6 separate regions of the Homo sapiens genome follow, and all the other regions are linked to region 1. The links are contacts of gene promoters, found by promoter capture Hi-C in blood cells and fetal thymus (Javierre and others, 2016). All regions are on one chromosome and are shown on one strand. Each heading gives the region's core, a stretch centred on a gene start or on the middle of the fragment in contact. The rest is flanking DNA. Distances are from core to core; before and after follow the strand shown.

Region 1 (3,634 bases), core at 820-3,319:
CTAGAATATATTTACACAGACAATGCAGGGCTTTCCTTGATGAATGCCTTAGTTTTCCCTTTTTCCAGGAGTCTTGCATATCAAAACTTTGGGAGATTTCTTTCTAGTGATTCTGACAGTATTGACTGAGGCATGGCCTCATTTTCTTGAAGATTCTTGGCTATTGTTCAACTGTTCACTGAAGACAGGCTTTGCAGTTACATTTCCCCTTATCATGAATGTAGTGAACAAAAAAGCCTGGTGAATCCTCAAAGCATAAAAACAGAGTTAGTGTCCAGGAAGCTTTCCCTCAAGCTGTTAACACAAGGGAGGGAGGCTGTTAGCATAAGTTATTCCCTTCACCACAGGGGCTAGGAGAAACCTTGTTAAGCCATGAATTTCAGTCCGAAGTGATCTGTGCTGAAAAATGGGATGAGCAGATTTTCTTGGGCAGATTCCAAGAGGTGTTTACATCCAGGGTTGCTCCCTCCCCTTGTCTCCCAGCTCCTCCCAGGATGGATGGTACAACCCCTGTTTACCCAGATGCGTTTTAATAATCGAAACACCCAAGCACCTGTTTTTTTTTTTTTTTTTTTTTTTTTTGCCACTAAGGAACTATCAAGTAAAGTGTCAAATATAGTACAGTAACACAAAGGGCGCGAATTAGGAGCGGGTGCAATATCTGGAGAAGCGACTGGGGAAGGAGAAAAGGAGAGGGGAAGGCGTCTTATTCAAGTATGATTTCTCTCGGGTCCTGGCATTGGCATAAAATGGCATCTGCCTCTTAGTAAACATGGCTAAAGCCCAGTCCAAAGGAATTTCCGCTGGCCGATTTAGGAATCAACAGAATAAGGTACCCTAGAGGTGCTCCAGTCACTCAGGGCAGGAGGCCTCACAGGCATGGGGTGTCGCCCCTTCCCTTTTTCCACGAAGCTCCTCCAGCCTACCCCTCCACTGCTCCGCGCCTTCATTCTATTTCCCCCTCTCACTTTGGATTTGAAAACTGGGCTTACAGGAGATGCAGCTGGCGACACGCGGGGTGTGACTGGACGGAGGAATCCAGAGGGCAGCTGAGGAGGGCGGAGAAAGGTCCCTAGGCAGCGCCACCAAGCAAGGGGCAGACAAGGAAGCTGTGGGGGGTCCCGGGAGAAAGCTGGGGCGGGACCGCGGGAAGGGAGTCTCACCTCGCGCACTCACCTGCTGCTGCCGCCCGAAAGCTGCGAACCGTGTTGCCTTCGCGCAGGAGCCGAGGGCGCCAGGGCTGCGAGCCTCCCTCCAGGGAGCCCGGTGTCCGGGCCGCCTGGACCGTGCTGTACCTGTCATAGAGCCGCAGCATGTGTTCAGAGACCTTGTCTTGCGGCTGCAGCTCGGAGTCCGGGCCACCACCTGCCGTGCGGTCACCTGGCACAGCTTTGCGGAGCTCCGGGAAAGGTGGCTTCGGTCTCTCTCCCTGCGCCAGGCTCACGCAGAAGCAGCCCAGCCACAGAAAGAGCAGCCTGCTCGCCCCAGCCATGGCTAGGTACCCGCGCGGCGCGTCGGCTCCCGGCGTCGCTGCGGGACACTCCGAAGGCGCAAGGAGCCGGCGGCGGAGCCGAGGGTTGAACTCCAAACCAGCTGGGGCGAGGGCGCACGGAGCCCGGGACGCGGCCGGGTGCAGCGAGATAGCGGCCAGCCCCACTTGCTGCGCTGACCCAGCGCAGCCTGACAGGTGGGCTCTTCCCCAGCAGCTGCGCGGACCTCACCCGCGCAGGGCGCTGCGGGCGCCGTCTCCACTCCAACGCTGAGAAAGAGCTGTAGGTCGCGGCGTGTGTGGCCCGGGTGTTTTCAAGATCTGTCTGTACCTTCCCTCCTCGCTTTATTTTTGGGAACACCCGGCCAAACTGGCCGCGCGAGGGACTAGGACTAGCTCTGTTTTGGGCGCCAGGTCGGAGCCGGGGCTGTGCGCAGCGGTCCGGAGGGCGCTCGATTGCCTTTTCCAGGGATTGGAGCAGCTGCGGCGCGGCTGGTCCGAGTTTTTTAGTGTACGTGTGTGTGTGTGTGCGCGCGCGCGCGCGCGTGTGTGCGTGTGTGTGTGTGTATGAGAGAGAGAGACTTAGTTCTTTCGCTCTCTAGCTGATCTGTAGAGTCCTCAGCCAATCTCTCCCACTCCCTCGTCCTCGCCCTCTTAGCTTGCACCAGGCTGGGATAGAAGCAAGGGAGGGGGGGAGTAACCAGAGAACTGGCAGCGGGAGGGAGAGAAGAGGAAGTAGGGGTGGGGATGGCTGGGGAGAGGAAGGGAAAAGGAGATTCAGGACTAAAGAAATGGTAGGAGGGACGGTTTTTTTGTTTTGTTTTGTTTTGTTTTTGTTTGTTTTTTTTTTTAATTCTCCAAGAACAGTGGCTGTGTGGTGGCTAGCAAGAGGGCAGAGGAAAACAGAACTTCTTCCTGGCTTTTCGGTCTTATGATTCCAAACAAAGTCACAACGTGAACACCATTCTCGCTTACTTTCCCGAGCCTCTTCTGACGGACACTGCGGGCCCCTGCACCTGCAGCCCGTCATCATAGCTTCCTGTCTTTCTGAGAGCATACCCATCATAACGCCCCTCTCTCCCGCATCATCTTCTCTCGAGGTGAGAAATATGTGCGAGTCAATATCATGTTAAAAACAAATAAGAAAACAAGCAAACACACCACAACCCCACCTACAGCTTCCCCCAAAGGTTTCCTTCCTACAGGTCCCCAAAAGGTTTCCCAGCAGGATGGTGCAGTGGTGGCTAAAAACAAGGGTGTGTGGAAGATCCCGGAGTCCGGAACAGAATGTAAGAGTCGCTAGCTTTGTCTTCCTAATTCTCTCTTGTCATGGCTGTACAATGGAGATTAAACTATGAGCAGCCTGGCGCAGTGGCTCAGGCCTGTAATCCCAGCACTTTGGAAGGCCAAAGCGGGTGGATCACGAAGTCAGGAGTTCGAGACCAGCCTTGCCAACATGGTGAAACCTCATCTCTACTAAAAATACAAAAATTAGCTGGGCGTGGTGGTGCGCACATGTAATCCCAGCTACTGGGAAGGCTGCGGCAAGAGAATGGCTTGAATCCAGGAGATGGAGGTTGCAGTGAGCCGAGATTGTGCCACTGCACTCCAGACTGGGTGACAGAGCAAACTTTGTCTCAAAACAAAAAACAAACAAACAAACAAAAAACAACTGTGAGCTAACATTTTTCTCCACACTTATGCTCTAGACATGCCTTGTTATTTATATTTCAAGTATATTACCAAATAATTTTCACAGCAAAACCCATTTTACAGATGAGGAAACTGAGGCAAAAGGATACATAGTAAGTGACAGAACTGAGATCCAAATTCAGGGAGTCTGATTTCTGGCCTCAGGCCAGATAACCACACTATTAATAGTGAAATTAGCATTTAAACTGAAGTTTCAGTGTGCAATCCATGTAAATGTTTAGTGCAGTTCTTGACCATATGCAGTAAAATCTTCAGTCAATGTCTATTGCATTTATCCCTCTTCCCCTCTGTAGGGCAATGGAGTTGATCGAAAAGAAGATAGGCTCCTGGAGTCACACCATGTCTCCAGATCTGAGTTTCTTCTTTGATGGTGAATAACAACACATTCCTTTTAGAGTTTTGTTTGGATGACATTAGAAAGCAGTGCTAAAG
Region 2 (3,396 bases), core at 566-3,065, 600 kb after region 1:
ATTGCTCTTATCTACATGGTGGAATATGACTCATCAGCACTTTTAAACACCACTGTTAAAAGTATTTAAAATACACTTTTTAAAGCAGCAGGATGAGGAAAGGGCAGCAAAGATGTAACATTTCCTCTTTTTGAAGATATGTCTGGAAGCTGCACAAATCACCTCCAAAGGAGCTTGGGAAATGTAGTCCTTACTCCATAGCAACAGGTCCTGCTACAAAACAAGAGTCCTTTCATTAAGGGAGAAGGGAAGAATGGATATCAGACAGCAAAAAGTATTTTTTCTACAATTTTAAGAAAGAGACTTGCTTATTTTAATCTAATATGTTGGGGTATTGTGAACCAATATTTGTAACAACAATAAGAATTAAGTTGACTAGAGCATTATTTTAACAACACCTGCTGCTCTAATGATGTTTATAGAATATTTTTAACATCTAAAATACAAATTTTAATATAAATAAATGTAAATTTACAGCTTATCTTTTGTATTAATGCCTGATACATAACAGGCATTTGGTAAATAGTTGTTGAATGAAATAAAGAATGAACTGACCAATTAAAAAGTTGTATTGAGCACTTGCTATGACACTATAAATGTGTTACACATTGAAGAGACTTTTTAAGTATGACACATGATCTCAAACAGAAGAGGTTGACAGCATTTTTACCTGATGATACTGGTTACAAAATTCCCAGTGAGTGTAGAGAAAATAAACTTTTCCAAATTAAACTGTTGTCTTAATGTAATATTATAACTTCAAATAATTTTTAATTGGGTATCCTCTTTTTAACGTGCTTGAAAGAAAAAGTTACTCTGAGAGCAAATAAATTAATTACTACTTATTTATAAAATGTTACATTGTACAAAGTTGGTAGCCAAATACTCCATACTTAAGATTTTAGCAAAAAAAATTACATGTGACCTATAATTATTTGCTTAAAATTTGATTTTTTAAGTAATTTAAATCAGTGACAACCAAGTGAACTATTTATTTACAATCATTAAAGCCATCTGTGCTTTTATTTGAAGAATAAAATATTCAATTATAGTTTTGAGAAACTGAGAAAAGCAGAACTCGAAGTGTTCGTTTTTTTAAGGTAAAGTATTCTTTCTATTTTCCCACAAATGTTTCTCTTTCTTATTTTTTCATTCTTAGGAGCAGAATTAAGCTATCACCACAGATCATGTTCAGGAATACACAGCTGTACATATTGAGATATTTAGAAGGTGGTTTATGAATTAAGAGAAATGTATCATCTATACACATAAAATGCTTGTTTTAATTACTCAAGTACAGGGTACCTCCATGGTTTCCAGAATATAACACCTTGGGATAAATAATGTAACTTCAGCCTTTTATGAATCTTTTTTTTTCCTCTGTGGTTTTTCATAGGTAGGAACTAACAGATGAACAGGATAAATTAAGGACAATGAGTTCAGAAAAATAACTTTTCAATATCTGCCATGCCACATCAAGAACAGGTATCTTTTAAAGTCTTCTTGATGAGAGTAAATCTTTGTTCTCTGAGAATGAACAAAGTCAATCAGTGCTCTATCAGGAATATAAGATGAGTAAAGAAGGTGAGAGGTATTTTTAATTAAAAATAAACATTGATGAAAATATTCTGGGAAAGATGGGAAGCTAAGAATACTTATTCCCCTCCCTCCAACTCTAGATTTTTATTACCTTGCACAGAAAGTATATAAAAAATAGAGTGTAGGCCGGGCACGGTGGCTCACACCTGTAATCCCAGCACTTTGGGAGGCCGAGGTGGGTGGATTAGAAGATCGAGACCATCCTGGCTAACACAGAAACCCCATCTCTACTAAAAATACAAAAAATTAGCCAGGCGTGGTGGTGGGCGCCTGTAGTCCCAGCTACTCTGGAGGCTGAGGCAGGGGAATGGTGTTAACCTGGGAGGCGGAGCTTGCAGTGAGCTGAGGTTGAGTCACTGCACTCCAGCCTGGGCGACAGAGTGAGACTCCGTCTCAAAAAAAAAAAAAAAAATAGAGTGTAAATTGCATGTGAACTGAAAAACTTGTGCTAAAAAGACTGTCTTTTAGAAATAGCATAAATAAAACAAATGAAAGGGCCGGGCATGGTTGCTCACGCCTGTAATCCTAGCACTTTGGGAGGCCAAGACAGGTGGATCACAAGATCAGGAGTTCGAGACCAGCCTGATCAACATGGTGAAACCCCGTCTCTACTAAAAAATACAAAAATTAGCCAGCCATGGTGGCGCGTGCCTGTAATCCCAGCTACTCAGGAGGCTGAGGCAGGAGAATCACTTGAACCCTGGAGGGGGAGGTTGCAGTGAGCTGAGATGGCACCATTGCACTCCAGCCTGGGCGACACAGCAAGACTCCATTTCAAAAAAAACAAAAAATGAAATAACTAAGTGTTGACTCCTAATATTTTGCAATCATAAAATAGTTTCCATTTTGATTTTCTTTTAGATTTTCCTATCTATAAGTGAGATTATTACATTAACTTATTCAAAAAATACTTACTGTGTTATTTTTGTGAACCAAGTGGGCCTTGTTATTCAGAAAATGTCCCTATCCTTATAGAGCTGACAATGAATTGGCATAGAGAACAACAAACTCTTCTGTGAAAGTAGCACAGTATCACAGGAAGTAGAGGAAAGCCATCCAGGACCATGTTGGCATGCTGCAGCCCCAACACTCACTATTAGAACAAGCCACTCCCAAAACAGAATAATTTTTATAGCCACATATCAATGGCATTCAATGGCTACTGAGCTGCCAGCTGCAGAGTTTGAACAATAGGGTTAATGAGCAGTGACCCCGAAGGTGAAGAGGCTTCTCTGTGATGTCCTAGTTTGACAATGCCTCAGGAAGACTAGACACAGCTTTTCCCTATAACCAAGCGGCTGCCAATCCAAACAGAGGGCTAGATATAGAAAATTGGCCTTAACTCAGTGGCTTCTCCAAGTTTCTTAAGAAAAATAAAAGGAGAAGAAGGAGAAGGGGAAGGGAAAGAAGAGAAGGACGAGGGAGAAGAGAAGAAACAGGAGGAGGAGGAGGAGGAAACGGAAAGAAGGGAAGGAGTGAGGGAGGCAAAAAGGGAGGCAAAGAAAGGAAGGGAGGAAGGGAAAAAAGGAGGGAGGAAGGAAGAAAGGAAGAGAGGGAGGAAGAAGGGAAGGAAGGGGGGAGAGATGGAGGGAAAAAAGGAAGGAAAGAAGGAAGGAAAAGAACAGAGAGAGGGAATGAGGAAGAAAAGCCTTGCAAATATTTGGTTCCTCTTCTACTAGAGGCCCACATTGCATTGAGTCCGGAATGCCAGATACCATTCCAGTTACTGAACAAAACAGATAAAACATCCTGCCCAAGGAGCTCACATTCTAGTAGAGGAAGGAGGTAGCAATAACC
Region 3 (3,522 bases), core at 58-2,557, 510 kb after region 1:
GTACTTTTGTATTTGTATGTCTTCAGTGTTTGTACTTCCTTCTGCCTGTTATACCCACCCATATGTCCTCTCTAAGCAAAGTTCTACTTACTTCTTCAAGTGCTAGCTCAAATGCCAACCCAGGCAAGCCATAATTGCTAATTCTAAGCAACTTGAGGGCCCCATACTCCCATTCGCCAGGCAGGGATACCTGATGGCCAAGCAAAGCCAGCACATGACATGATCCTGTTATCTTTCCCTGCTCACCACCCAACATAGAAGCTTGTTCAGTCATTTTTTCTCCCTTAAATATGTATTTCCATACTCTTCTGTAATTCCTTGCATCTCAAGCATTTTAGAGCTTTCTGCCCTCTTAAAACGATGTGCTAAAAAAAAAATCCATTTTTCATGAAAAGTAATCTGACCTGCATTCTGAGCACCTTTACTGTATATTTTCTTTATGTTCTTGCCCTAATTCAAGCTTGGTTCTCCTGTACGGAACTCGCAAGTGTAATCCACTCACTTTCTCATATTCTGTTTATGTTAGAGTCAGGACAAGTGACTGTTATTGTCCTAAATCCTTAATGATGCCCCCAGATCTTTTTGCCTATAGAATTATTTGGGAACCCTTGATCTTTAATGGCTTATGTAGTGCTCTGGCTATCCACTCTATCCCTCTTTGTTGTTTATCTACGAGTCTCTTGATCATTTCACCACATTAATTGAAGGCTTTTGCTCTCAGCATCATTTCCTGTACACCAATTGCTAATATTATCTTGTATGTCTTCAAAGTCCATATGAATAATCTTAATCTCTCAGATTAATCTCTGCCTTCTCATCCTCAGTGAACCTTACTTCTCTACTCCTCTTTACCAACCAACTCACATGTCCATACCCCCAACCTTGTCATCACCTAAAACTGGTCCACTCTAAAACTCTTAAACTCAAAGAAACACAGCTTCCCATTATTCTGGCTTTATCACTCAGATTTTAGATCTATTCTTAGATCTCAGCAAGGCACCCAGTTTCTTAATGCTTCTACTTTCTTCCTATCAAAGAGCCTACCTGTGTCTCCACTTTATGTCCTTTTGTATTCATAGTGCAGTTCATCAATCACTGTCTCACCATGTCCTCAACTCTCTTGTCTCTCTCCTACACCCTCACTGATTTAAACTGAATGCTTGCCTTCTATACCTTGGCCACTGAACCTTGGTAGAGAAATAAGTAGTGTGTATCAGTGCCTAACTATAGATCTGTGGCTTGCAACATCACCAGCTCACTCATGGCTGTCTAGGAATACTTCTAGGTCCCACTAGTGAAATCTCTTTCCATTCCTCACAGCAGCCACTTCAAAATGTGTATAATTATCTCAAATCTCTGGCTACATCGTTTCTCAAGATAAAACAATAACCTTAACATTACACAACAAAAATTAAGCCAATAGAATTCCCTCAGTTTTCCACAGCTTGATCTACAAACTTAGCTGCATCTACCTGCATGCCTTCAGTCTTCTCTCCAGTTACAACAGGAAAGGGTTTAGTGTCCCAGGTAAGGGTAATTTCTCTTCCCATGGTTTGGAATATACTTATGAACTTCTCATGGACCTACCTCTATTTCTTTCTTTAGGAGGCTTCTGACCAGCATTTCAACATGCTCAGTTCTTTCTGATCTAAAACAACAGAAATTCTTACTCAAACCAGTGTCCATTCATTCTAAACAATTTCCTATTTCTTTCCTTCCTACCCCACAATTTAGAAAGTGCTGCTGAACATTGGCTTATATTTAGACATCTCCTATTTACTCCTCAACAAACTGTGAAACTAGACATTTCACTGAAAAATGAGATCCCACCAAGGTCATTAATGAACTTCTTGCTGCTAAATCCAATGGAAGCTCATCTGTCCTTAGCTTAATCCACTCATTCATTCAATACATATTTACTAAGCGTTTATTATACCAAAGCCCTGAACTAGGCACTGAAGATAGAGCTGTGAATAAAAAATAAAAAGATCGCTGCCCTAGGGGATATGATTTCTAAAGGGTTACAGTGATAATAAGCTGAGTATGCACTGAGAGGTGTGCTTCTTAAATAAGTAGCCTACACTTAAGGAAATAATTATACTTCATTCCCAATTGGCCTTTAAATCTTGCAGCCAGGGCTCCTCACAAGCTTTAAGATGGCAACTACTTTCTTGAGGGTCAGATATAACGAAATTTCCTATCTCCCTATGACATGGTTTGGATGTTTTTCCTCTCCAAATCTCATGTTGAAATGTGATCCCTAATGCTGCAAGTGGGGCCTGGTGGAAGGTGATTGGATCATGGGGTCAGATTCCTCATGAATGGTTTAGCACCATCTTCTTGGTGATAAGTGAGTTCTCATTCAGTTAGTCCACCTGAGATATGTTGTTTGAAAGAGTCTGAAACCTCCCCAATTTCCCTCTTACTCCCTCTCTCATCATGTGACATCACCTGCCATCCCTTCACCTTCCATCATGATTGTAAACTTCCTGAGGCTGTCACCAGAAGCAGATGCTTGAGCCATCCTTGTATAGCCCACAGAACCATAAGCAAATTAAACATATTTTCTTTATAAATTACCTAGCCTAAGGTATTCCTTTATAGAAATGCAAAAACAGGGCCAGGCACAGTGGCTCACACCTGTAATCTCAGCACTTTTGGAGGTTGAGGTGGGAGGATTACCTGAGGTCAGGAGTTCGAGACCAACCTGACCAACACAGTGAAAACCTGTCTCTACTAAAAATACAAACATTAGCCAGGCATGATAGCAGGCACCTGTAATCCCAGCTACTTGGGAGGCTGAGGCAAGAGAATCCCTTGAACCTGGGAGGCAGAGGTTGCAGTGAGCCAAGATCACGCCACTGCACTCCATCCTGGGCGACAAGAGTAAGACTCCGTCTCAAAAAAAAAAAAAAAAAAAAGAAATGCAGAAACAGACTAACACATCCCACTAGATATTGTATTTTGGTCCGCTAAATTAATGCATATGCAATGTACTTTCTATCTTCTTTCTTGTATTATTAACATGTAAATTATTGTTATTTACACAACCATCAGCTCCTTCAGCAAAGGCTTTGTATGAAATTCTCCATTTGTCGTCCAGCTATATCCCAGAGCCTTACATATAAGAGATTTCTAAAATATTGTTAAATGAACAGATAAATAAATGCATGTGAAATAAGTGGTTTACATTAAGTCTATGGCTACCCTCCAAAAAACAAAGGCAGTTTTATTGGGTTCTATAATTCCATGATGCATTGGAATCAACTATTAATTGTTATCACAGCTTGTTATCCTAACTCCCTGGGACATCATATTTTCTTTTAACTCTAGAAGGAAAGTTCACTGGAGATAAATGTAAAATTCTGTGTTTTAATTGTTGGCATGTAAACTAAACATAAATGTTCTGAACAGAAAAAGCAATATAGAAATATGCAAACATTTCAAAGACTTAGGATATTCTGAATGCTGCTAAGTTTTGCCAATTTTTTAAAGAAAGATTGTGCCTACAGAGACAAAATG
Region 4 (3,175 bases), core at 22-2,521, 550 kb after region 1:
TGTTTCTAAATGGAAAATAGTGGACATCATCTGTGGTATTTTAGCCTCCACTGGATACGTTTTAAAAGTTGGCATACAATACACCAGGTACGACATCCTTTATCACAATTTAAGTTATGGCAAAAATATTATATGTAAACTTAAATAATATATGAGGAAGGAGATAGTTTTTGAAAATTTTCTGGGGGAGTAAATGAGCAATAATGTTTGAGTTTAGGACAGCGGGAGAGTAAATAACTGCTCCAGGGAAATGAAATAGGATTGCAGAATCACTAAGGTCCATACTGGTTAGTGATCATGAAGTCAAAGTGAGACCAGTTCCATTTGCAGGTTTTTCTCTAGCCATTTGCAGCTCTGTAAGCACAGGTGTGGAGGGAGAAAAGAGCTGGGGTTTTCCAGGCAACAATAATAAAGCAAAATGTAGGAGCAAGTAAGTTGATAATGTCTGCCAGGGAACAATTATAATGATGGACCATAGAATCTAAACTAAGTAGGGGAGACAAATGGGAGAATAGAGACTATGAGAGAGTTTTAAAAGGTGGTAGGAACAGTAGGTGCTAGGTGTCGTGGAGTCAACAAATAAATCTAGAGAACTAAGGGGAGAATTATGGAAAGTTTAGTATTAGTGGTGACAAAGTAGAATGCTTGAAGTTGAGATTGTGGAAGGATTACAGATATTAGTAAATCAAGATCTAAGGTGTGATCGTGGGATAAGATGGATGTGCATGGCGGTGAACAAGCTCAATGAAGGAAAGGAGGGCCAAAGCCTGAGTGGCCAAAATGGAAAGCTTATCTCCATGAATACTGAATGACCAAGAGTTGCGACAGGCATAGGGATAAAGAGAGTGACAGAAAGCAAAGAAGCCTACAGATAACATCAAGAAGCAGAGGTGGGGTTGGATGTGGTGGCTCATGCCTGTAATCCCAACACTAGGGAGGCTGAGGTAGGCAAATTGCTTGAGCTCAGGAGTTCAAGACCAGTGTAGGCAACATACAGAAACCCTGTCTCTACAAAAAATACAAAAATTAGCTGGGCACAGTGGCATGTGCCTGTAGTCCCAACTACTTGGGGACTGAGGTGGGAGAATCGCTTGAGCTTGGGAGGTTGAGGCTGCAAGGCTGCAGTGAGCTATGATTGCACCTCCACACTCTAACTTGCTAGGCAACAGAATGAGACCCTGTCTCAAAAAAAAGAAGCAGAGATGGTAGAAGACATAGAAGATACAGTCTAAAGACATGATTTTCAAAGCTGGGAGGAAAGTTGGGGAAGACACACACACACACACACACACACGCATGCGCACACACACGCACACACACACAAAATGCCTGAGAAAAGCAGGCTCCAGGGATATGAAAGTGTAAAATCCACCATCATACTGGGGAGACAGTATCCTTAAGGAAGAGCCATCTGACAGTGAAGGGGTGACCAGAAAAGAGCTCCAGAGAGCACAGTGGAGGGGATCCAGAAATTGGATTGGAGATCCAGTCAGAAAAGGAGATGCACAAATGGAATGAAATTCCAGGGGATAAAAAACGCTGGAAATGCTGAGTTTCTGTATAACTGACACAAATAATGATGAAGAACACAATGAGATTAATCATGGGGACCCATTTAGACCCCCAGAGTTGGTATAAAAATTATAAAGTGTAAACATCTGAGCCAAAGAAGATGCAGAAAGAAATCTTATCTGAACCTTCCCAAAATAGCCCTCCAGAAAATGCAGTGCCATTAACTCCTCCCAGGAAGCTTCCTGGGAATTCTGCTGCCATGGAGATGGACTGCCTATTTCTATTAGTATCAAAAAGTCCAAATGAACCTTCCATACCTTCCCACTGAAGCCTCTCCCCACTGCAGCCACTACTGAATTTGGCATATAATCTCTAGCCATCCAGTGAGTTACTCATCACTAAGTATTCCCGTGTGTACCCTGTGCACACACAAATTAACCTTGTCTTTTCTCCTATTAATCTGTCTAGAGTCAGTTAATTTGTAGGCCCCAAATACTGGACCCAAGTTAGAAGAGAACAAGTTTCCCTCCCAACACTGTCAAGGCAGGGAGTGATGGTGAAGCTGTGAGTGCTAAGGAGGGTAAAGAGAATAGAGTAAGGGGTGAGGGAGATCTTTCCTTGAGTTTGGAGAATTCAAGAACTCCTTTTTCACTCTTACCAATGATGCTGTAGAGTTGCAGGAGAGACAGCATTATTACAGCACCATGTGAATCGTGTTTTACACAACTTATTAAAAGGATAGACTACTTGGCCTCACTGGAAACTACTAAGAGTTGAGCAACATTGTTGTTTACTGGCGTCTGGGTCGTCACATTCTCCTGGCTTTCACTCAGCCTCATTGAATCTTTTTCTCAGTCCCTTTCCTAGATCATCCTCTTCAACTGATCTCTAAATTTAGGAATATTCTAGGACTCTGTTCTTCACTCTCTAATTCAGCCTCTCTCCTTAGGGGTTCTTAATTAGTTTCATAGTTTTAAACACCAAATATTTGTTTGCGACACTTATCTATTTCTGAACGTACAACTCTAACCCTGACTTTATATTGAGTTTCAAACTCAGATATCAACAGTGGACTACCATCTTCACTTAGATGACATAAGCTACCTTGGTTTTAACATATCGAAAAGATATTCTTATTCCCTTCTTTCCAAGCCCCTAGAAGAGCCCATTCCTCTCTCAGTTGTCCTCATCTTCCAGTGTCAGTTAATGACACTACAATTTACCCAGTTGCTCAGGCCAAAAATAACTTGGATGTCTCAGTTAATCCTTCTCTTTCTTTCACTCTGCATAACTAATCCATCAGTATGTCCTGCCACTCTATTTCCAAAGAAATCATTCCTCATCCTGTCACAAACCACTTCCTCCACCACCTCCCTGGACCAAGCCACTACCATTTCTTGCCTGGGTACTACAGTATCCGGTAACTGGTCTGCCTGCTTCTATTTCTCCCCATAATCTGCACATTGCACTACAACCAGAGGGATCTTTTCAAATGCAAATGTGTTCATATCTACTGCCCTGTTTTAAACATTCTAAGCTAAATCTTTACATGGCCTTCAACTTCCATACCACACTGGCACCTGCCTACTGTTCTGGCCTCCACTCCTCTCTCCCTCTGCCCGAGCCACATGGCCTTCTCACTACCCCCCAACAGGCCACACTT
Region 5 (3,492 bases), core at 677-3,176, 620 kb after region 1:
AGAAGACAACTGAGTCTTCTTTTCAGAGATGATATTCATGCTTATAAAGATGAACATGGGCCAGATGATTCTGCCCTCTTAACCAGAAGTGACTGAAACTGGGTCAATCACATTTTTTTCTCCTGGAAATTTGCAATTATGACTCACAACTTTTATCAATTTCTAACTGCTTGGACAGAAAGACAAAACACTGCAACAGTCATTTTATGGCATAAACAGAGAGAAATAGAGAAGCAGATTTGCAGTTAAAAGCAAAAAAAAAAAAAAAAAGAATGACACAAACATACAGACAAATGAAGAAATGAGTGGCCATGAGGCTCTGGAGAAGAAGATTCAGCTTTATTTCCCGACTTTGAGGTCTTGGACTCTTGTGCCTCGTGAGACACAGACGAAAAGTGAATTTCTGTTTATTCCATCTGGAATTGCTAATACATCCACTCTCTATAGTTCCTCCAGTTTCTTGTTCCCTTCACTGTCCCAGATTTTCTTTCCTTTTTGTTTTTACTCAAGTAGAGTAAGTCTAAGCTCAAAAGTCTGTAGGTACCAATAGGGCTTCATTAAAGGTAATAAGCTAAATTTGCAGGTGTTAGTTTCTGTCTACCTAGCTATAAACATCTCCAGCTCCTGGGTCCCACCCTGAAAGGTGTCACAGGTGAGCTCACATACAGTCTTGTTATCTTCTCTCACTCTTATCCCTCTCTGGGATGCCTGCTGCTTTCACAATCACCTAAGGGTAAGGCTTCAAAGCCACAGCCAGCACCATAGTCAATGCTCAAGGAATGACAGCAACGTCTGGCTCTACACTTTGATCTGTACTTGCTGTGCAATTTCACTCTTTCCATTCTCTGTTAAACCCACTCCAGTTAAGCTTTCACCCATACTTTTCATGTTATCGCACAGGTGGCTTTGGGATACAAACAAGGTCCACTCTCTTCTCACACAAGTTGAGAACAATTTCTCAATCGTACATTTTAACTTAATGTTATGAGGCTACCATTCAAAAAGACTGAAATCTGTTACTTATTTTATGCATATATAATAAATTCTAAACCTGAGCAGAGTCTTCCATAACACACAAATATCAATGCTAAAATTCTGAGTCTTAAACACTTTTATACTACATTCTAAATCTTCTTGAGGCTGAAGGATGCATACCCATTAAGGAAGATAATTGCCATCCCTATGAACTGAGATTACTTTAACCAGGGATTTGGTGAAAAAATGAATAGACAGATGAATGAATAGGTATGTGTGTGTGTGTCAAGGCATCATTTCTTGATATTAACAATCCAACAATAATTGAGACACATATCTACATGTTGCTGCATTTCTTCAGCATCCTCAGTGAGCAAAGATGCTGGAAAAATGTCCTCATTTTCTATACTACACATTGTCTATGCCCATGTCTCCCAGTTATCTTACTTAATACAAATCCTTCAGCTTTCTCTCTCTGAGGCAAGGTCCACAGCACCATACTCACCAAATAAGAATGAATCACTTGCTCCTCTGTGCTACTGGAATATGTTATGTCTGCACATTCCACTTTGAGCAATATATTTAGTTGAGTTCATGCGTTATTCCTCTCTGAACTATAAGCTTCTTAATTAAAGGGGCTTTTTCTTGCTTATCTTTTTATCCCAGAACGTGTCATGAAAACACATTCATTTAGGAGTAGCTTATAATATGCACATGTATATTTGAATTATAATGCTTTTATGTTTAGTGTTTAATAAGCAAAAAAAAAAAAGGACTATATGTGGATTCAGACTATTGATCAGAAATGAAGTGCAGAAGCTTGGGATAGTTAAAATGATGACCGTGAAAGTTTGGATAGGCAAGTGGTCTCCAACAGAAGGGAAGCACAGTACAGGACTAAAAGCATGGTCACTAGATTGCTTGGTTATGAATCCTAACTCCTCTATTTACTAGCTGAGGGACCTATGTAAGGTACTTAACCTCTCTGTGAGTCACTTTCTTATTCCATAAAAGGGACCTAATGCAAGCCCCTAGTTCATTGGATGACTTGAGGATTTGAAGAAACAACACATGCAAAGCTTTCAGAGTAGTACTTAGAGAAGGCAAGCCACTGCACAGAATACACCGTAGATGATGCTCTCTGTGGGCACTGAGAGTGAATGTTCAATAAATGCTATTTATTATTACTGTTATATTAATACATATCTGTTCTCTCATCCTCTTTATTATGAAGTAAAATAAGTCTAAATTATTGAATGCAAAAGAGAATATGGCAAAGAGAAATCTTATCCTAGAAAATAACATTCAAGGGCTCTTGACACCTATTTGTCTCATAAACTTCCAAGGATCAGAAAATATCATAACAACAAAACAATAACAAAAAAATGGTGAAAGAATTCACATTTTTACTAACAAATCAATAGTGCATAATATATAGCTTCGGGTTGCTATATATTATATTGTAATATATAGCAAAGGTTGTTTATTAAATAAATAAATAAGGTACAATTTTTCTAAAGACAATAAATACTATAGCATGTAAATGTCTAATCTTTTGATAAAAAAATTAGATTGTTTACATTCCTTTCATCCTTCTAGATTTTTCCCAGTACTATATATTTTACTTGAAATACAAAGACTCAGAATAAGTTAACTCTAAGCAAACCTTAGGCAGTGATAAAACTAAATGAAGTAATGATTGAGGATGATTGAGGACAACTAAGAATTAATGAATTAAGTGCCAGTTTATACATATGGATTGCTGTTTCTTCAAATTTCCTCTAAAATTTAAGTTCACTGTGGAAGTTTTCAATATCCTATGTCACTCATGGCTTTTGAAAATCTAGATGCTCAAACTCCATGGCTTATTTGAAATGTAAACCTTTTATTATTCAAGAGGCCAGCATTCAATTATCCCAATAATGGGTCAAATAGCCAAAGGAAATAAATATCTCTGGTTACATACAATGCTGCTTTAGTGGAGAAGAGCAACTTAATTATGACACGTATAATACATTACCGAATTTTACCCAAAACCTAAGTCTTGGTCCTCATTCATTTAACACACATTTCTTTATGTTCTCCTAATGCAGATGATTACTTTTTGGAGCCAACCTAATTCTTATTAACAAAAGCTGCCAGTATTAAGGAAGGATGTTTCTAAATATGTACAACTTCTTCCTAGAATAGAAAAAAAAACAGACAAGCAGGCCAAGGTTTGAATTCTGCACTCACCTGTTGAAAGACCTTAAGCTAATGATTAAATTTCTCTTAGTCTATTTCGTTATCTGTGAAAGGAGAAACACACCACCACCCAGTGATAAGTGAGATAATTAATGCAATGCTTCATCTTCAATATAACATTAGCTGTTATAATTTCTTGAATGATCATTGCTGATTCAGAAAGTTTAGAGAAAAAGGCCACATGCAATACAGTTCTATACATGGACGGGTAAGAAACATTTTCTCTTCCCGGATCTAGTCACCAATACCTGTTTAGTTAGGAGGAGATCAGAG
Region 6 (3,389 bases), core at 529-3,028, 570 kb after region 1:
TGACTGAGGGGCATAAGGCAGAAGGAGAGACCAAGGCAAATTTTAGAGCAGGAGTGAAAGTTTATTAAAAAGCTTTAGAGAAGGAATGAAAGGAAGTAAAGTACACTTGGAAGAGAACAAGTGGGTGACTTGAGACATCAAGTGCACTGTTTGACCTTTGATGTGAGGTTTTACATGTTGGCATACTTCCGGCATCTTGCATCCCTTCTCCCCTGATTCTTCCCTTGGGGTGGGCTGTCTGCATGTGCAGAGGCCTGCTAGCACTTGGGAGAGTTTGTCTTCATAAGAAGCCTGGCTGGATGCAGTGACTCATGCCTGTAATTCTAGCACTTTGGGAGGCCTAAGTGGGAGGACTGCTAGAGGCCAGGAGTTCAAGATCAGCCTGGGCAACATAGGGAGACCCTATCTCTACAAAAAACTAAAATTGTTTTAATTAGCCAGGGCACGGTGATAATGCACCTGTAGTCCTAACTGTTAGGGAGGCTGAGGTGGGAGGATCTATTAAGCCCAAGAGTTTGAGGTTGCAGTGAGCTGTGAGTGCACCACTGCACTCCAGCCGGAATGATAGAGCAAGACCCTTTCTCTAAAAGATATTCATTAAAAAATTAAAAATTAAAAAAAAAGAAGTCCCATCCGCAAAGAGCTTTAATTGTCTCAACCAGGCTTGCTGCCTGGTTTTAGTCCTGGGAAAGTTCAATCCCAGGAGGGCCTACTCAGTGCCATAGATGAACAGATCTGTTATTGGGATACTGAAGACCCTGAACAAACAAACTGCATCCTTAATGGTCTGGGGCATTCGAAACCTTGCTATTTTAGCCTATTTCTGGGATTGAATTTTTGGGGAGATCCTGGAGGGGAAGGCTGCATCTTCTGTGCCCATTTTTAAAATGTCACATCCATAGTATTCTAAACCTGGAAAGTTACTTTTGGGACTTTCCATGCAGAAGTCTTATTTGGCTTGAATCACTAATAAAATAAATAAATTGGCTATATTTAAAAGAAAATGTTTTAGAGAGCTCTTGTCTTAAACAACCATCTTATAAATATAAAAAATACACAAAGAATACAGCCTTAGAAGCTCCCTTGGTGAGATTTTTTTAAAAAGGCAGAAAAAAGATTTTTTCAGAAATAAGATTTTTTTAAAAGTTAAAAACCTTTGTACACTCATATTGCCTGCCTTGGATCCCCTGTGGGATTTGCAAAAAGGCACTCCAGCCTGTAGTCCAGTAGCTGGCATTTGGCATGCGCCGCAGCCTGGGTTCCATTCCCAGACACGGAACTAGATTCTTCAAGATATAACTCCTTTAACTCAGGAAGAAAAAGAAACATTTGTAAAAATTAGTTTGAATTATTTGTTTTAAATGTATATTCATGTGACTCTTGAATTTTGGGGGCGCCCATTTGTTATTGATCCTTTTCCTTTCCATGAAGAGCTATTGTTTTTCCATTTTTCCCTGAGTCTCTCTTTCTTTTTTTTCTGGAGTATAAACGGGCTAAAAACTGAGCATTCAGAGCTGTGAGAATCAAAAAAATGGTGAAGGATGACAGCACTGAGAGTGACAAGTAAAACTAAGATCCAGGTGCCAAAGTTCTTGACAAAAACAAGAGATGGATTAATATGCCACAGGATAGAAATGGACGTCGGGAGTTAAGTCTCAAAGTAGAAGGCAGATTTTTACTGGAAAATGCAGAAGTAACGTTTCAGAAAATCAACAGTGAGCTACAAGCCCGGCAAAACATGGATAAATAAGTAGTCTCTATTGTAGATGGCTCCTAGAAAAATTATATCCTTGGCAGAGGGGGTTGGGGGACAGCTAGTTTCAGTTACAGCAAACGAACTGCATGGAGCATCCCATGAAAAATGAATGCTACAGTAGCATGTGGTTATAGAAGTCCCGAAAAACATCTTAAAATGCTCCAAGGTCAAGAAGAAACAGGCAAAATAGTGTTGGCTCAGGAGAGAAACTCTGACTACCAACCTTGGATTTTATAGCAATAGATTAGGAATCAATGGGAAGAATGAGAGAGATGAAAGTATCAAATAGATCTTTTACACATAAATTTGTTCCGGTGTCTTCTAAAAGTCACAGATGAATGGCATTTCTTGCCTCCATTCACATGGGCCATGGAAGCTGAGGGCTGCTCCTGTGACACATCCAAAGCACAGAATCTGTGGCACATGGCCTCACCCTCCATAACATAACATGATAACCTATTTGACTCTCTTCCCCACTTAAGGAAATTACCAAAAATAACTTTCCAACATGGCTCAATAATAATTTCAAGTTGATGTTATTAGGACGTAGGCTAATAACAAAGATACTTATTCAACTTCCCATATGATTTTTTTGTTGTGGAAAACGCTGCCTGCGGATCATCAATTGTTGTAATTCTTGTCCTTCAATTTAGTGGTTAATGGAATAGTTTATTTATACCCTACTTCAAAGTTGTATTTGAAGTGGCTACATTTTGGCATAATGCAAACTACTTGTGCTGTAAAAGTCTTCCATTTTTACATGTTCTCATGGTCTCTTTAATAATATAAATATTACCACTACCTATTTGCAGACAAAAACATCTGCGTTAAAAAAAAAAAAAAGCATTTGGAATGACTGATCTCCTCTTCCTCAAAATACTTTCCTCTGTTGGTATCCACAACACCGTAGCCTTTGTCTTCCTGGCTAAACCATCTCTAGCTCTGCCAGTTAGCTCTTCCTCATCTGTCAAACTTCTATGCATTGGAGTGTTGCAGGACTCATTCCTTGGAACTCTTTTCTATTTTATTCATTTACATGATTACATGCATGAGTCACAGATTAATGTCTCCAACCCAGACCTCTCCACTGAACTCCAACATGGTTATCCAACTGCCCTCTACATCTTTACTTGGATTTCTTCATGGTATCTCAAACTTGCTACATCTAAAATACAAACTCCAGATTCCAATCCTCCATGTATCCTTCTCTTATGGTCTATTTCATTCTCTATGTACTCAGGTAAAACCAAAGTCATCCTTGAGTCATCTTCTTCCTCATATCTCATATTCAAACCATCAGAAAATTCTTCCTGTTCTATCTTCAAAATATACCCAGAACCCAGACATCCCTCAGCACTTCCACCACTGTTATCATCCTAGTCCAAGCAGAACTTCCCCTTGCTTGGCTTATTACAAAGCCTCTCGCTGCTCTCCCTGCTTGCCTTCTTGTTCTCACTACAAACTATTCTTATTATAGCCAGAGGGAGATCCCTTTATATCAGATATCTGGACACTCCTCTGAGCAAAGCCCTCTAATGTCTTCATATCTCAAAAGTGAAAGGTACATTATGTCTTGCCATGAAGCTGCTCCACTCCCTTTATTTCTCTGGCCTCATTTTCTTTAAATCATCCC

What was found. Contacts are between HindIII fragments. The CHiCAGO score rates a contact against its expected background, and 5 or more counts as called.
Region 2: a fragment that was not itself captured here is called in contact with the fragment with the promoter of BMP3 in region 1 in 1 of 17 cell types (naive CD4 T cells); the score reaches 5.4 in naive CD4 T cells.
Region 3: a contact is called between a fragment that was not itself captured here and the fragment with the promoter of BMP3 in region 1, in 1 of 17 cell types (naive B cells). The highest score is 5.6, in naive B cells.
Region 4: a contact is called between a fragment that was not itself captured here and the fragment with the promoter of BMP3 in region 1, in 1 of 17 cell types (total B cells). The highest score is 5.4, in total B cells.
Region 5: a fragment that was not itself captured here is called in contact with the fragment with the promoter of BMP3 in region 1 in 3 of 17 cell types (naive B cells, naive CD8 T cells and erythroblasts); the score reaches 5.2 in naive B cells.
Region 6: a fragment that was not itself captured here is called in contact with the fragment with the promoter of BMP3 in region 1 in 2 of 17 cell types (naive CD4 T cells and naive B cells); the score reaches 6.1 in naive CD4 T cells.

What each region holds. Positions count from the first base shown.
Region 1 is chr4:81,029,143-81,032,776 of GRCh38, reverse strand. It overlaps BMP3 (bone morphogenetic protein 3), which reads right to left and starts at 2,069. Exons shown (of 3, transcript NM_001201.5): 1 at 1,177-2,069. The coding sequence starts at 1,492. The HindIII fragment of the contact is 6,285 bases long and covers 285-3,634 here.
Region 2 is chr4:80,431,149-80,434,544 of GRCh38, reverse strand. All of the region lies in intron 2 of CFAP299 (cilia and flagella associated protein 299), which reads right to left. Among named protein-coding and RNA genes, the nearest start is that of CFAP299, 97 kb to the right of the region's middle. The HindIII fragment of the contact is 5,418 bases long and covers 1-3,396 here.
Region 3 is chr4:80,515,417-80,518,938 of GRCh38, reverse strand. All of the region lies in intron 2 of CFAP299 (cilia and flagella associated protein 299), which reads right to left. Among named protein-coding and RNA genes, the nearest start is that of CFAP299, 180 kb to the right of the region's middle. The HindIII fragment of the contact is 1,689 bases long and covers 463-2,151 here.
Region 4 is chr4:80,475,080-80,478,254 of GRCh38, reverse strand. All of the region lies in intron 2 of CFAP299 (cilia and flagella associated protein 299), which reads right to left. Among named protein-coding and RNA genes, the nearest start is that of CFAP299, 140 kb to the right of the region's middle. The HindIII fragment of the contact is 962 bases long and covers 791-1,752 here.
Region 5 is chr4:80,410,529-80,414,020 of GRCh38, reverse strand. All of the region lies in intron 2 of CFAP299 (cilia and flagella associated protein 299), which reads right to left. Among named protein-coding and RNA genes, the nearest start is that of CFAP299, 77 kb to the right of the region's middle. The HindIII fragment of the contact is 260 bases long and covers 1,797-2,056 here.
Region 6 is chr4:80,456,194-80,459,582 of GRCh38, reverse strand. All of the region lies in intron 2 of CFAP299 (cilia and flagella associated protein 299), which reads right to left. Among named protein-coding and RNA genes, the nearest start is that of CFAP299, 120 kb to the right of the region's middle. The HindIII fragment of the contact is 3,407 bases long and covers 75-3,389 here.